5 separate regions of the Homo sapiens genome follow, and regions 1, 2, 3 and 4 are each linked to region 5. Evidence: promoter capture Hi-C in 16 types of primary human blood cells and fetal thymus (Javierre and others, 2016). All regions are on one chromosome and are shown on one strand. The core of a region is centred on a gene start or on the middle of the fragment in contact, and the rest is flanking DNA. Distances in the headings are between cores, read along the strand shown.

Region 1 (2,700 bases), core at 67-2,566, 170 kb after region 5:
CTAGGTCTCTAAGGACTTGCTTTATGAATCTGGGTGCCCCCGTATTGGGTGCATATATATTTAGGATAGTTAGCTCTTCTTGTTGAATTGATCCCTTGACCATTATATAATGGCCTTCTTTGTCTCTTTTGATCTTTGTTGGTTTAAAGTATGTTTTATCAGAGACTAGGATTGCAACCCCTGCCTTTTTTTTGTTTTCCATTTGCTTGGTAGATCTTCCTCCATCCCTTTATTTTGAGCCTGTGTGTGTTTCTGCACGTGAGATGGGTTTCCTGAATACAGCACACTGATGGGTCTTGACTCTTTATCCAATTTGCCAGTCTGTGTCTTTTAATTGGAGCATTTAGCCCATTTACATTTAAGGTTAATATTGTTATGTGTGAATTTGTTCCTGTCATTATGATGTTAGCTGGTTATTTTGCTCATTAGTTGATGCAGTTTCTTCCCAGCCTTGATGGTCTTTACAATTTGGCATGTTTTTGCTGTGGCTGGTACTGGTTGTTCCTTTCCATGTTTAGTGCTTCCTTCAGGAGCTCTTTTAGGGCAGGCCTGGTGGTGACAAAATCTCTCAGCATTTGCTTGTCTGTAAAGTATTTTATTTCTCCTTCACTTATGAAGCTCAGTTTGGCTGGATATGAAATTCTGGGTTGAAAATTCTTTAAGAATATTGAATATTGGTCCCCACTCTCTTCTGGCTTGTAGAGTTTCTGCAGAGAGATCAGCTGTTAGTCTGATGGTCTTCCCTTTGTGGGTAACCCGACCTTTCTCTCTGGCTGCCCTTAACATTTTTTCCTTCATTTCAACTTTGGTGAATCTGATAATTATGTGTCTTGGAGTTGCTCTTCTCGACGAGTATCTTTGTGGTGTTCTCTGTATTTCCTGAATTTGAATGTTGGCCTACCTTGCTAGATTGGGGAAGTTCTCCTAGATAATATCCTGCAGAGTGTTTTCCAACTTGGTTCCATTCTCCCAGTCACTTTCAGGTACACCAATCAGACGTAGATTTAGTCTTTTCACATAGTCCCATATTTCTTGGAGGCTTTGTTCATTTCTTTTTATTCTTTAAACTTCTCTTCTCGCTTCATTTCATTCATTTGATCTTCCATCACTGATACCCTTTCTTCCAGTTGATCACATCGGCTACTGAGGCTTGTGCGTTTGTCACATAGTTTTCTTGCCTTGGTTTTCAGCTCCATCAGGTCCTTTAAGGACTTCCCTGCATTGGTTATTCTAGTTAGCCATTTGTCTAATTTTTTTCCAGGTTTTTCAATTATTTGCCGTGGGTTCGAACTTCTTCCTTTAGCTCAGAGTAGTTTGATCGTCTGAAGCCTTCTTCTCTCAACTTGTCAAAGTCATTCGCCATCCAGCTTTGTTCCATTGCTGGTGAGGAGCTGTGTTCCTTTGGAGGAGGAGAGGTGCTCTGATTTTTAGAGTTTCCAGTTTTTCTGCTCTGCTTTTTCCCCCCATCTTTGTGGTTTTATCTACCTTTGGTCTTTGATGATGGTGATGTACAGATGGGGTTTTGGTGTGGATGTCCTTTCTGTTTGTTAGTTTTCCTTCTAACAGTCAGGACCCTCAGCTGCAGGTCTGTTGGAGTTTGCTGGAGGTCCACTCCAGACCCTGTTTGCCTGGGTATCGGCAGCAGAGGCTGCAGAACAGCGGATATTGGTGAACAGCAAATGTTGCTGCCTTATTGTTCCTCTGGAAGTTTTGTCTCAGAGGAGTACCCGGCTGTGTGAGGTGTCAGTCTGCCCCTACTGGGGTGTGCCTCCCAGTTAGGCTACTCGGGGATCAGGGACCCACTTGAGGAGGCAGTCTGCCCGTTCTCAGATCTCCAGCTGTGTGCTGGGAGAACCACTGTTCTCTTCAAAACTGTCAGACAGGGACATTTAAGTCTGCAGAGGATTCTGCTGCCTTTTGTTTGGCTATACCCTGCCCCCAGAAGTGGATCCTACAGAGGCAGGCAGGCCTCCTTGAGCTATGGTGGGCTCCACCCAGTTCGAGCTTCATGGCCACTTTGTTTACCTACTCAAGCCTGGGCAATGGCGGGCGCCCCTCCGCCAGTCTCGCTGCCACCTTGCAGTTTGATCTCAGACTGCTGTGCTAGCAATGAGCAAGGCTCTGTGGGCGTAGGACCCTCCGAGCCATGCGCAGGATATAATCTCCTGGTGTGCCGTTTGCTAAGACTGTTGGAAAAGCGCTGTATTAGGGTGGGAGTGACCTGATTTTCCAGGTGCTGTCACCCCTTTCTTTGACTAGGAAAGGGAATTCCCTGACCCCTTGAGCTTTCCGGGTGAGGCGATGTCTTGCCCTGCTTCGGCTCACATGCGGTGTGCTGCACCCACTGTCCTGCACCCACTTTCTGACACTCCCCAGTGAGATGAACCCAGTAACTCAGTTGGAAATGCAGAAATCACCCGTCTTCTGCGTTGCTCGCACTGGGAGCTGTAGACTGGAGGTGTTCCTATTTGGCCACCTTGGCTCCACCCTCAGGGAAGTGACTTTTAAGCAGACACTTAAATGAAGTAAGGCAGCCAGTAATGTGAAATTCTGCAGGCAAGCCAATGCTAGACAGTGAACAGCAGGGGTGAGGATTGTGAAGCCAGAACCAGCTTGAAATGCTCAAGAAACAAGAAGAGCAGAGGACACCAGGGCTGGGGATGGAAAAGCGATGGGGATGAGGTTGGAGAGGTGGCAGAG
Region 2 (2,700 bases), core at 72-2,571, 140 kb after region 5:
AGCACACACTCAGGAAATATTTGTCATATTTTGGCCAGGCGTGGTGGCTCGGCTGGCCAAGATGGGCAGATCACCTGAGGCCAGGAGTTCAAGATTATCCCGGCCAACATGGTAAAACCCTGTCTCTACTAAAAATACAAAAATTAGCTGGGTGTGGTGGCAGGTGCCTGTAATCCCAGCTACTTGGGAGGCTGAGGCAGGAGAATCGCTTGAACCCAGGAGGCGGAGACTGCAGTGAGCCAAGATCACACCACTGCACTCCAGCCTGGAAGACAGAGCAACACTCTGTCTCAATTTAAAAAAACAAAAAAAGAAATACTTGTTGTATATTTTAATGGAGGTCCTGAAAGAAAGGGAGGAATATTATGGTATTAATATTAGGGTAATAGATGGGTATTGCTTATTTCATGTCATCCAAATTCCTTAGCATGGTCCAATAGTAACCTCTTCAAAACCTGGCCCCACCCTTTGAATTTGCAGCCTCACCTCTGGGTATTCCCCCTAGCAAGCACATAAATCTCCCCTCCCCTCCCCTCCCCTCCACTCTCACTGTTTTTATTTTTTATTTATTTTTTTGAGACAGAGTCTCACTCTGTCGTCCAGGCTGGAGTGGGGTGGCGTGATCTCAGCTCACTGCAACCTCTACCTCCCGAAATCAAGTGAATCTCCTGCCCCAGCCTCCCAAGTAACTGGGATTACAGGCGCATGCCACCATGCCCAGCTAATTTTTGTATTTTTAATAGAGATGGAGTTTCACCATGTTGGCCAGGCTGGTCTTGAACTCCTGACCTCAGGTGATATGCCCACCTCAGCCTCTCAAAGTGCTGAGATTACAATTGTGAGCCACCGTGCCCGGCCCACTCTCACTGTCTTTAAATAGCCCCACCTTATTCACCATAGGGGAATATCCTCTAGTCCAGCTCATTTCACCAAACCTTTTTTAACATCTACAGTGTTTCAGATCTCATGTGGATCCGGCAACCCAAGATTAATTATCTGTCCCCAAAACAGACCCTCAGTGTGAGTCAGGAGAGTCTCTCCATCCTGACAACATCCAGTGCTCATCTCCCATTTCTTCCTGAGTTTGTCCTACATGGAAATCGCTCACCATTAACCTCACTTTTAAAACTATACCTTTTCTTCTGGGCTTATACAATAAATCTCACAAGACTTTCATCAGCTATTCCAAACCTCCCTCATCCCCACTTTGTCCTCAACTGTAAAGCCCTGGAGACCATGACATGCAATTTGGAACTGTGACATACTCTCTCAATCGATTCACCAAATCAGCTGTGTCTCCTAAACCAGTGGGTAGGCTCTCTGAGTTCAGGCACTGGGCTTCTGGTATACCCCCTGGGCCCAGGTATACCCCCTTGACCACACTGGGTAGGGAGCAGACACTCATTCACAGGTACCGACTACTCAGACGGAACAAAGATAAGGCGAGGAACTTGGACCAGGCTGGCTGACAGTCTAAAAAGATCCTTCCCATTCATGCAGAAGCAACCCTCTCCCAATATAATTTTTTCACTCTGTGCTGAAATCATTAAGTATGATTCTGTAATATTGAAAAAAGTAAGCCCTAATAGTCTCCTATTTTTCTTTAGAGAGATGGGGTAGAAAAATCATTGAATTTAGGGAAAATGGACGCTGCTTCATTACCCAGCTTCAGCACTTATCTAAGACTATGCTAACACAGCAGCTACTAGCCTTGTGTGGCTATTTAAACTTACACTTAAATAAAAGTCAAATGGCATTCCGAGTCCCACTAGCCACACTTCACATGCTCAACAGCCACAGGAAGCTACCATAACAGGCAGTGCAAAGGCAGACTATGTCCATCACTACAAACATTCTATTGAACAGTACCGGTCAACGTCATCTTTGGTGTTCAGTTAACTTTTTTCTGGGCCTCCTGTTTCCTCCTGTGTAAAATGGGAACAACACATGCCTCACTGGGTTCCTGCAAGGTTTAAATACGATGCTACATGTGAACACCCTTTATCATAACTTTAGTAAAGTTTGACTTTACTGAAGTCTGTAACTGTATATAACTGTAACTGTATATAACTATACATATAGCCATACTTTGACAAAGCACTAAATGATATATATTTACTTATTTTTAAGAGTCTAACAACCAGCGATAGTAGCATCTGTAAAAGGGAGTTATTGTCAACTGTAGTAAAGAAATTCTATCTCAGGCTGTGAGGCTAGAAGGACGCCATCCAGGAGGAAGGGAGAGAGTATGCAGCGGCCAGGCCACCTAAGGAATGCTGCATTCCAGGCAGAATACAGATGAACTGAAGCCCGGCCAGAAGGATCTGCAAACGAGACAGGACAGCGGTGAGTGGAAGGGCCCAGGATTTCTCAGCCGGGGAAGAGAAGACTCAGTGGGAACCAAGAAGAGAATGGATTTTGAAACACACAAAGGGCGATCCTGGGGAGGGGCCTACATCCTGGGCAGCTGCGGAGACAATCAAGCAATGGCCTTCATGTAAGGAAAACACTGACCAGTGAGTGCCGCCCAGCAATGGAAATGCTGCCTTATGGAGAAGACAGCTCACAATTCCAGAAAGTGCTCAAACATAATGGTTCTCAAACTGGAACATGTATTGAATCACCTAGAGAGCTGGAGAAAACCCAGATGCTTTGGGCCCACCTGCAGAGATTCCTGTTCAGTGAGTGTGGAGGAGGCCC
Region 3 (2,700 bases), core at 58-2,557, 240 kb after region 5:
ATATACACACTCATATATATACACATATACTCATATATACACATATATATTCACATATACATATACATGAGAATATATATATACACACACACACACTCTGTTGGTGCAGAAGCTACAAGTGTAAAGTTTGTTGGATGTAATCATCATTAAAGATGTTCAGAAATACAGAATTCCCTGTACATATCAAAATCACGTAGCAAAAGCAGTTTTCATCAAGACTGGACTTTTAAGGAAGCATTTCAACTTCTCTGAGATTTTTGTTTGGTATTACATATCTTACTCTAATGCTTTTGCTCTTATGAGTGCTTAAAAGGAAAAATAACAGCCAAATCTTGGGGAAGGGGGTGGTGGTGACGAAAGAGACAAAAGTGTCAACTCTCATGAGTGACACAGCGATGACGTGAACAAGTGGAAACCTTTGTGAAGGAACAAAGGTCTTCTCCACCATTGGAAGTCAAAAGAATGTCTTGGTTAGAATCAGAATCAGACAAATACTTGCTTTAGTTTTCAGTCCATTAAAAAGACAGCTCTCAAAATAAATAAATAAATATGTTTTTAAAAAGCATTCTTCCACATCTTTATTTACATTCTCCTTCACCAACCTAAAGGGCAAACAAATAGAGAAAATGCTTTTAGGGACCTGTCAGTTTCATTAAGAACACGAACCCTGAATTAGACAATGACAGAAGGAAAGTGATAGGTTTGGCTGTGTCCCCACTCAAATCTCATCTTGAATTGTAGCTCCCATAATTCCTATGTGTCATGGGAGGGACCTGGTAGGAGGTAATTGGATCATGGGCGCAGGTCTTTCCCATGCTGTTCTCACGACAGTGAATAAGTCTCATGGGATCTGATAGTTTTAAAAAGGGGAGTTGCCCTGCACATGCTCTCTTGCCTGTTGCCATGTAGGATGTGCCTTTACTCTTCCTTCATCTTCTGCCATGATCATGAGGCCTCCCCAGCCATGTGGAACTGTGAGTCCATTAAACCTCTTTCTTTTATAAATTACCCAGTCTCGGGTATGTCTTTATTAGCAGTGTGAGAACAGACTAATACAGAAAGTGTTTCTGTGAGCCCTTGTGTCACTTTGCCATGTTCCCAGGACTCAGCCAAGACCAAGTTGGCACAACCTAGTGACTGGGAATGTGGCATCAAAGCAGGCACCAAAGCAGCTGAGCAAAGGGTGGTACCCACTCAGGCGCTGCTTGGCTGAACTTGACTCAATATCCAACAGGAACCATTTCACGTGGTTCTTTTTCACTTTTATCTTCTTAGGTAGCTTAAGATCCTGTGGGTTATTCTAGTACACTGTCTTTATAAAAATACCTCCTGCATGCTTCATTGCCACAGAACTGAGGAAGAAAAGTCTGACACTGAAGTCCAGAGGGTCAGAAAAGTAAAAGTCTTGAGTCTTCAGGAATCCTTGAGGCAGTGGGAAAAGCCAAAACCAGGAAGGAGAGGGACCAGCTGCCCACCTCAGTCACCGTAAACGCAGCTGTTCAGCAGGGAAATACATTGCAATCTCCTCCCCACGGGCTGTGCCGTGAAGCATCCGACAGGCCGCTTCAATTCCTAGTAATGCTTCTCCAGTCCTCTAGGTAAGAATGCTTGCCTTACAAGAACAAATATGTTTTGGATAAGTCAGCCAGTTCAGACCTGGAGCCATGTCTAATTCGCTGCCTTCGACACTGGCTAAACTTGCCTGTTGTGTACGGCAGACATTCCTTTACCAGAAGACCAGAAGTTCATTAGAGGTTTGAGGCTTTAAACAGAAAGACCTTCTGGTGGCAACACACCAAAACACCTGCTATCCAACATGTAACTCAAACACTGGTCAAGATCAAAGCTATCAAGAAGCCACAATTCAAATGCTTTGATGTTTGCATTTACTTCCTAACATGTCTGTGGAAAAATAAACTTCCATCCAACTTCTACTCCCAACTTTTCACCAATTAAAACTGAACTCCTCTTTAAAAACTTCTTCATCTTGAATACTTCCTTGATCATTTCAATCCATAGGGATCTCTCTCCTGAAGAAGCTGTTTCCTTACTCCTTTAAAAAGATTGTACTGCATGATTTAATTCATCCACTGTGTGTGAATATCTTATCTTCCAACACAGTAAACTGAGGACAACGCCCATGTCTCTGTGTCCCCTATGCTACACTACGTCCCAAGCCTGCCTTGGGCCTGATTTCCATAATGTAAATTCTAAGTGAAGCTGGATTAGTACTTGGAGCCCAGAAAAGACTGTTAATGGCTGGGTTGAGTTTTAATGATCTCTAATGTTACTCCACTGTAGAAGGCAGTGAGGTGACTCGTTTATAGAGAATGCAATTTCTTTTTGTTTTTGAGACAAGGTTTCACTCTGTCGCCCAGGTTGGAGTGCAGTGGCATGATCAGGGCTCACTGCAGTCTTGACCTCCTGGGTTCGAGCAATCCTCCCACTCTAGCCACGCGAGTAGCTGGGACTATAGGCACATGCCACCACGCCTGGCTAATTTTTCTGAATTTCAGTAGAGAAAAGGTCTCACTATGTTTTCCAGGCTGGTCTCAGACTCCTGGGCTCAAGCGATCCTTCTGCCTCAGCCTCCCAAAGTGCTGGAATTACAAATGTGAGCCACTGTGCCTGGCTTGCAATTTCTTTTTGATTAAACAAAATCAGAGCAGATTGTATTGCACTGCCAAGAGCTCCACTTGA
Region 4 (2,700 bases), core at 37-2,536, 220 kb after region 5:
AGAGCAAAACTCTGCCTCACAAAAAAAACAAATACAAAACGAAACAAAACATGTCAACTTAAGAAAAATCAAGCAGAACAAAGCATCAGGAAAATGACTATGAACAGACATGCATCCATCTAGCATTTACTGACCAACTACAAAATGTGAGCGCTATCAAATATGAAAGAGACGCTAGGGTATCCTTCTCCTGCTGGGGGCTTATAAGACACAAAATATATATATACTCCTACTGTTTAAGGCAGAGGGGAAGTACTTGGTATCCAATGGCATGTTTAAGTTAAAAAAATGACACCATATGTAAAGGTAGGCTGTGCAAACGATTTACAGCAAAGCACTAAAATCTATCTCGCGTGCTTCCTAAGGGAGAAAAATGTGACTACAAGCTTGAAAATATTCAACATATACAAGAGATATGCATATCTCTTGTATACAACAAGGAAAACACTTTAATATAAATTTGCACTATCCATTCTGGTTAACCAAACAGCAAGACTTCATTGCTTTGCTCATCTCAAAAATATCCCAAATTAAACATTGAAAAAGACATACATTCAAGTTGTAGGAATCACATACACAAAGGCATCAAATTTGTTGCACTTTCAATTCTGTCTAGATTAGACTCTTAAATTTATAAATTTCTTCTCTTGAATCAAGTATAACTTGGAATCTGAAAAGGAATTTTTTTAAAATAGTGTTCCACTGGTCAGGAGAAAAAGTCCTTGGCTAAAATATTCCAAAGGTTAAATTTAGCAGGTTCATCGTGGCATAAAACAGACAGGGCAGCTGCCAAACGCTGGGCCTATAATTCAGCTGAAAAGCTGCAGGCATTCCCTGGGCCACAAACAACCACATGTGGTCTCCAGGAGTCCCAGACAGAATGATGGGCTATAATTCCAGGTTTGCTTGTTTTTCCAGTTTGTGTTAGAATTTATGGGTCTAAGCAGGTGTTTTAGTTTGTTCCCATGGGAAGAATTATTTTCTGGTGTCTTTACCCTTAATGTTGCTATCATGGTACTGTATCAACTCAGAAAGATTCAAAGGGCAAGGGGTAGTGAGGGGTCCTGAGAACATACTAGAAGGTCCTAATGATCTTGGGGCTGAGAATTGAAGAATTCGGCTATTGGATGTTACCCTCGTAAATTAAAAGACGTTCTCAGCCAGGAAGAGGCTCACGCCTGTAATCCCAGCACTTTGGGAGGCTGAGATGGGCAGATCATCTGAGATCGGGAGTTCGAGACCAGCCTGACCAACATGGAGAAACCCCATCTCTATAAAAAATACAACATTTGCCAGGCGTGGTGGTGCATGCCTGTAATCCCAGCCACTTGGGAGGCTGAGGCAGGAGAATTGCTTGAACCTGGAAGGTGGAGGCTGCGGTGAGCCAAGATTGCACCAGTGCACTCCAGCCTGGGCAACAAGAGAGAAACTCTGTCTCAAAAAAAAAGAAAAAAAAAAAAAAGATGTTCTCTGGCATTGCTCAGACACCTCCAGCATAACCCTGCAGACTCACAAACTCACAAGCTGCAGGAATAGACAGGACAGACGTTCCACGGTGTCAGATCCACAAGGTGACCCTGTGATCCATCACACTGAAGAGCAAATGCTAAGTCTCCTTAATTTTGTGCTATGTCTCCTCAGCACTCCAGCATGGAAACCTGAAGTCCAGGAAGCTACAGACAACTTGCCCCAGCCAATGAAGGCCTCCACCCTCTTCTAATCTCAGTCAAAAGTTAAAGCTCCTTAGGAGCAAATGTTTTTAAGAAGTTCAATGTCTCCATTCAACAGAATTGAGGTTGCACTGCATTACAAATGATACTAACCGTTCTCTGTACCCTAGTCTCTTATTCTGCAAAGTATGGATGATGGTAATAATTAATGTCTACCTTGCAGGATCCAAGAGAATCAAAAGAGTTAATATTTATGAAGCATTTAGAATACTTCCTGAAATACTTAGGTATGAAACATTTAGAATATTAGCCTGAAATATAATTGTGATTACTTTTGCACCAAGCTAATAGTAAGTTCTGTGTAAGTTAGTACCTCTTCCGTTGAATTCTTCAATATTAAGATCTTTAAAACCCCCCAGTGCCATAGCACTATCAGTTACTTAAACAGCCATTAGTTACTGCTCCCTGCCCTTTTTCGTCCTTATGCAAACACAAATGATTCACTTTCAAAGCTCAGAAGCTTCCAGAGGGTAGATTTTCAGCTTCATGCAGCTGTATAATTTACACACGCTACCGGTGACAGTAACAGCCTGAGAGACAGGTGACAATGGATCTGTCTAGTGGCACTGGAGGCTGGAAATCCTGAACTCTGTGCTGTACTTGAACACATTTGCCCAGGGAAAGATTCCCCAAGGGACAAGTGCATCAATCTCGTATGACTCTTGGTTCTTCAAAAAAAGTCAATTAAAATTTTTCAAGGCCAGTACAGTAAACAGTGCTCTGTGTGATGCTCACACCTGTGCATGAGGGAGCAGGATGTGGGTAACACAAAGTCAACAGCGCAGACTCACCTGGCATCTTCTGGGGACTCTGCAATCAGGTGGAAAGTCCTATCGGCCATAATGATGTCGATCCCATTCTCCTTGGTGGTGTTATCTATGATCTCTCTGCAAAGAAGCAAAAGCAACAAACGCACATCAGGAACACCAAATTCTGAATAACTGAGGAAAGCAACTAATGAAGCCAATGA
Region 5 (2,700 bases), core at 63-2,562:
GTGGACAGACTAAGACATGAACACCTACACCAGCACTGTTAATAGGATGTGGGATGAGGGAAGTAAGGAATAAATAGCTCATAAAGGCAAAGAGGTGAGGGTGCTGGCTCCAGCTCCAAATTTCTGGCTGAGTTGGTTTTGATCCCCTCATTCTGTTTTACTCAACTAAATTAAGTGCAAAACCATCATAACTGGAAACCCACTAGAATCGCAAATTACACGGCAGCTGGTATGACGATAGCATGTCCTCCTGTGCATATGTTAAAAGCCTCTTCATCCAAAACACAGAAGGCATCAATTCATTCTCCAAATATGCATTAAGCACTTCTTTTTCCAGACAAGGTTTTAGGCCTTGGAGAATGAATTGAGTGAACTAAACAGCCAAACCTGCTGGCCAGATAAGGCACTTCAGAAAGCGTCTAAACCACCTTCCCTCATCATTTTTACTTAAAAGCTCTCAAACACACACACACACCCATCTCGAGTATAAATCTGGAAACTTAAGGGTGGGCCAAGTTCCTCTTTACCCTCCCCGCCCAGACAGGGCCATCACCGTCTCCATCCAGGTCCTCTTCCTCCTCCTCGCTGTCCTCCTCCTGCTGCTTTGCCAACTTCTTCGCCTGCTGTTCAAACCACTGGAGCCGGGGTGGTTTCTCACTCGGGTCTCGGTCGTGGGTCCCACGGCCACCAGTACCCACGGCCACGACATTCCTGGCCTCCTTTGCAGGCGCTGGGGGCGCCTTCTTGGGAGACATGGACGGCTGGGCCTTGATGGCCTGCTGGATGGCCGCGTTCATGGCATCCTTGTCCACACTGTCCACGCCCAGTCCTTTCTCCAAGTTCTTTTCATTCATCATCTCCACTTTCCGATTCACTGCCTGCACGGCCTTCTTCTCCAGCTCAACGTGACGCCGGGACTTGAGGTGGTTCTCGTAGGCGTTGAAAGAGGCAAACTTCTTACTGCAAACGGTGCAGTAGGTGGCCGAGCCCTTGCTCTCCTCCTCCGCGACGGCCCGCTGCGCCCGCACTCGCTCCTGGAAGCCCTCGGCGGTCACTGGGGCCATGCTGGCCACCTTCCGCCGCAGGTTGTAGCGGTGCCAGTCCGTCTTATAGTGGGCCCGCTGCATGTCCGCGTCGCGGAACGCCACCCGGCAAGTTATGCAGGTGTACGTCGCCATTGCCAGGCGAGAAATAAGAACCGACCAAGCCAAACACCTGGTGATCAGCGCCGTGGCCCCACAAGACCCTCAGACCTTAACCCGCCTCAGCAGCCAGGAAGAGCCACTCGACACGCCGACTTCCTGATTGTCACTGAGGAAACTTCCGGCACACGTCGGAAGTTATTCACAACTGGACAGGAAACCCGCCTCTCAGGCTGTGGCCACGCCTCCGCCGCCGTGAGGCCCAGGAAGCCGAGGGAACGCTGTGGCTGAAAGGGACCTGGGTCCGCTCAGTCAGCCCGAGGTGGCTGTTGATTGAGGGAGGTCGCGCCCTCCCAGTTACCTTCCCTGGTGGTTGTGCCGCTCGGTGTGACGCGGTCAAGGGGACGGCTACGCGAGAATGGGGGAGTGGGGCGCCCGAGGCTGCTCCTGGGCCCTGGGAAGCCCCCGATTAATGAATGGTCGGGTCAGCGACGCGAGGGTCGGGGTTTCTCTGAGGACCGCGCGCTGCACCTGCGGAGCCGGGTGAATGGATGTCGCGAAGGCAAGGGCTGCCCTTACCCCTCGGGGCCGACCTCGGAGCCCTCGCCCGTGGTTGCAACGCTTTCCCGGGAAACCGGAGAAGCCAGGCCGGGGGCTCGGCCTTTCTGAGGCGGCCCTTCCGGCGGAGGACACCGGCGGAATTTGAGTGCACAGAGTGCGCGAGAGGAGCTCCCTGTAGACACACAGTCCAAGCCACGTAGGTAATTCTAATAGCAGCCACATTTTTAAAGAGTAAAGAGAAATCGGTGAAACTGCTTTTAATGTGTTTAATTTAGCCCATCCTGTCATTTCAGCATGTAATCAGTCTAAAAGAATTAATTAGATCTTTTACGCTCTGTCGTTGGTTCTAAGTCTTGGAAATCCAGTGTGTGTTTTAGAGTTAACAGCCCATCTCAATTTGGACTAGACCCGTGCCAGGTGCCCAGTTGGCTGTGTACCCTCATGTATATAGGACAGCAAAGTTCTGTAGAAAAGAACTTCAGGCCAGGCGCGGTGGCTCACGCCCGTAATCCCAGCACTTTGCGAGGCCGAGGCGGGCGGATCATCTGAGGTCAGGGGTTCAAGACCAGCCTGGCCAACATGGCGAAACCCAGTCTCTGCTAAAAAATACAAAAATTAGTCCCGGCGCAGTGGCGCAGACCTGTAATCCCAGCTACTTGGGAGGTTGAGGCAGGAGAATCGCTTGAACCCGGGAGGCGGAGGTTGTGGTGAGCCGAGATCGCGCCACTGCACTCCAGCCTGGGCAACAGAGCAAGATTCCATCTCAAAAGAAAAAGAAAACATGAACTTCAAATGCTTGGGGAGGTCGTAGATTTCATCCACACAGCCTGGTTGAACCAGAGTCAGCCTTGTTAGAGTCGAATGTTGCATGCTCAGAATCCAGGCTGCCAAGAGAAAACCAAAAGAAGATGGCGCTTTAAAAAACCTTCCAGTGCCTTCCCTTGACTCAATCAAATTCAAACACCTTACTTTCTATTCTCCGAGGCTCTACCCCTCC

The links. The method cuts DNA at HindIII sites, captures the fragments that hold promoters and counts their contacts. A CHiCAGO score of 5 or more calls a contact.
Region 1: a contact is called between a fragment that was not itself captured here and the fragment with the promoter of ZNF622 in region 5, in 2 of 17 cell types (non-activated CD4 T cells and naive CD4 T cells). The highest score is 6.3, in non-activated CD4 T cells.
Region 2: a fragment that was not itself captured here is called in contact with the fragment with the promoter of ZNF622 in region 5 in 5 of 17 cell types (non-activated CD4 T cells, activated CD4 T cells, naive CD4 T cells and 2 more); the score reaches 6.4 in non-activated CD4 T cells.
Region 3: a fragment that was not itself captured here is called in contact with the fragment with the promoter of ZNF622 in region 5 in 2 of 17 cell types (non-activated CD4 T cells and naive CD4 T cells); the score reaches 8.1 in non-activated CD4 T cells.
Region 4: a fragment that was not itself captured here is called in contact with the fragment with the promoter of ZNF622 in region 5 in 7 of 17 cell types (non-activated CD4 T cells, naive CD4 T cells, naive CD8 T cells and 4 more); the score reaches 11.6 in non-activated CD4 T cells.

What each region holds. Positions count from the first base shown.
Region 1 is chr5:16,636,263-16,638,962 of GRCh38, forward strand. No RefSeq gene overlaps it. Among named protein-coding and RNA genes, the nearest start is that of RETREG1, 21 kb to the left of the region's middle. The HindIII fragment of the contact is 5,203 bases long and covers 1-2,700 here.
Region 2 is chr5:16,607,322-16,610,021 of GRCh38, forward strand. All of the region lies in intron 1 of RETREG1 (reticulophagy regulator 1), which reads right to left. Among named protein-coding and RNA genes, the nearest start is that of RETREG1-AS1, 7.3 kb to the right of the region's middle. The HindIII fragment of the contact is 6,956 bases long and covers 1-2,700 here.
Region 3 is chr5:16,706,229-16,708,928 of GRCh38, forward strand. The region is part of intron 21 of MYO10 (myosin X); the gene reads right to left. Among named protein-coding and RNA genes, the nearest start is that of RETREG1, 91 kb to the left of the region's middle. The HindIII fragment of the contact is 5,096 bases long and covers 1-2,700 here.
Region 4 is chr5:16,687,303-16,690,002 of GRCh38, forward strand. MYO10 (myosin X) reads right to left here. Exons shown (of 41, transcript NM_012334.3): 28 at 2,522-2,617. Among named protein-coding and RNA genes, the nearest start is that of RETREG1, 72 kb to the left of the region's middle. The HindIII fragment of the contact is 1,804 bases long and covers 385-2,188 here.
Region 5 is chr5:16,464,488-16,467,187 of GRCh38, forward strand. It overlaps ZNF622 (zinc finger protein 622), which reads right to left and starts at 1,313. Exons shown (of 6, transcript NM_033414.3): 1 at 554-1,313. The coding sequence starts at 1,178. RefSeq lists an enhancer at 621-690 and a silencer at 2,498-2,700. The HindIII fragment of the contact is 4,211 bases long and covers 1-2,700 here.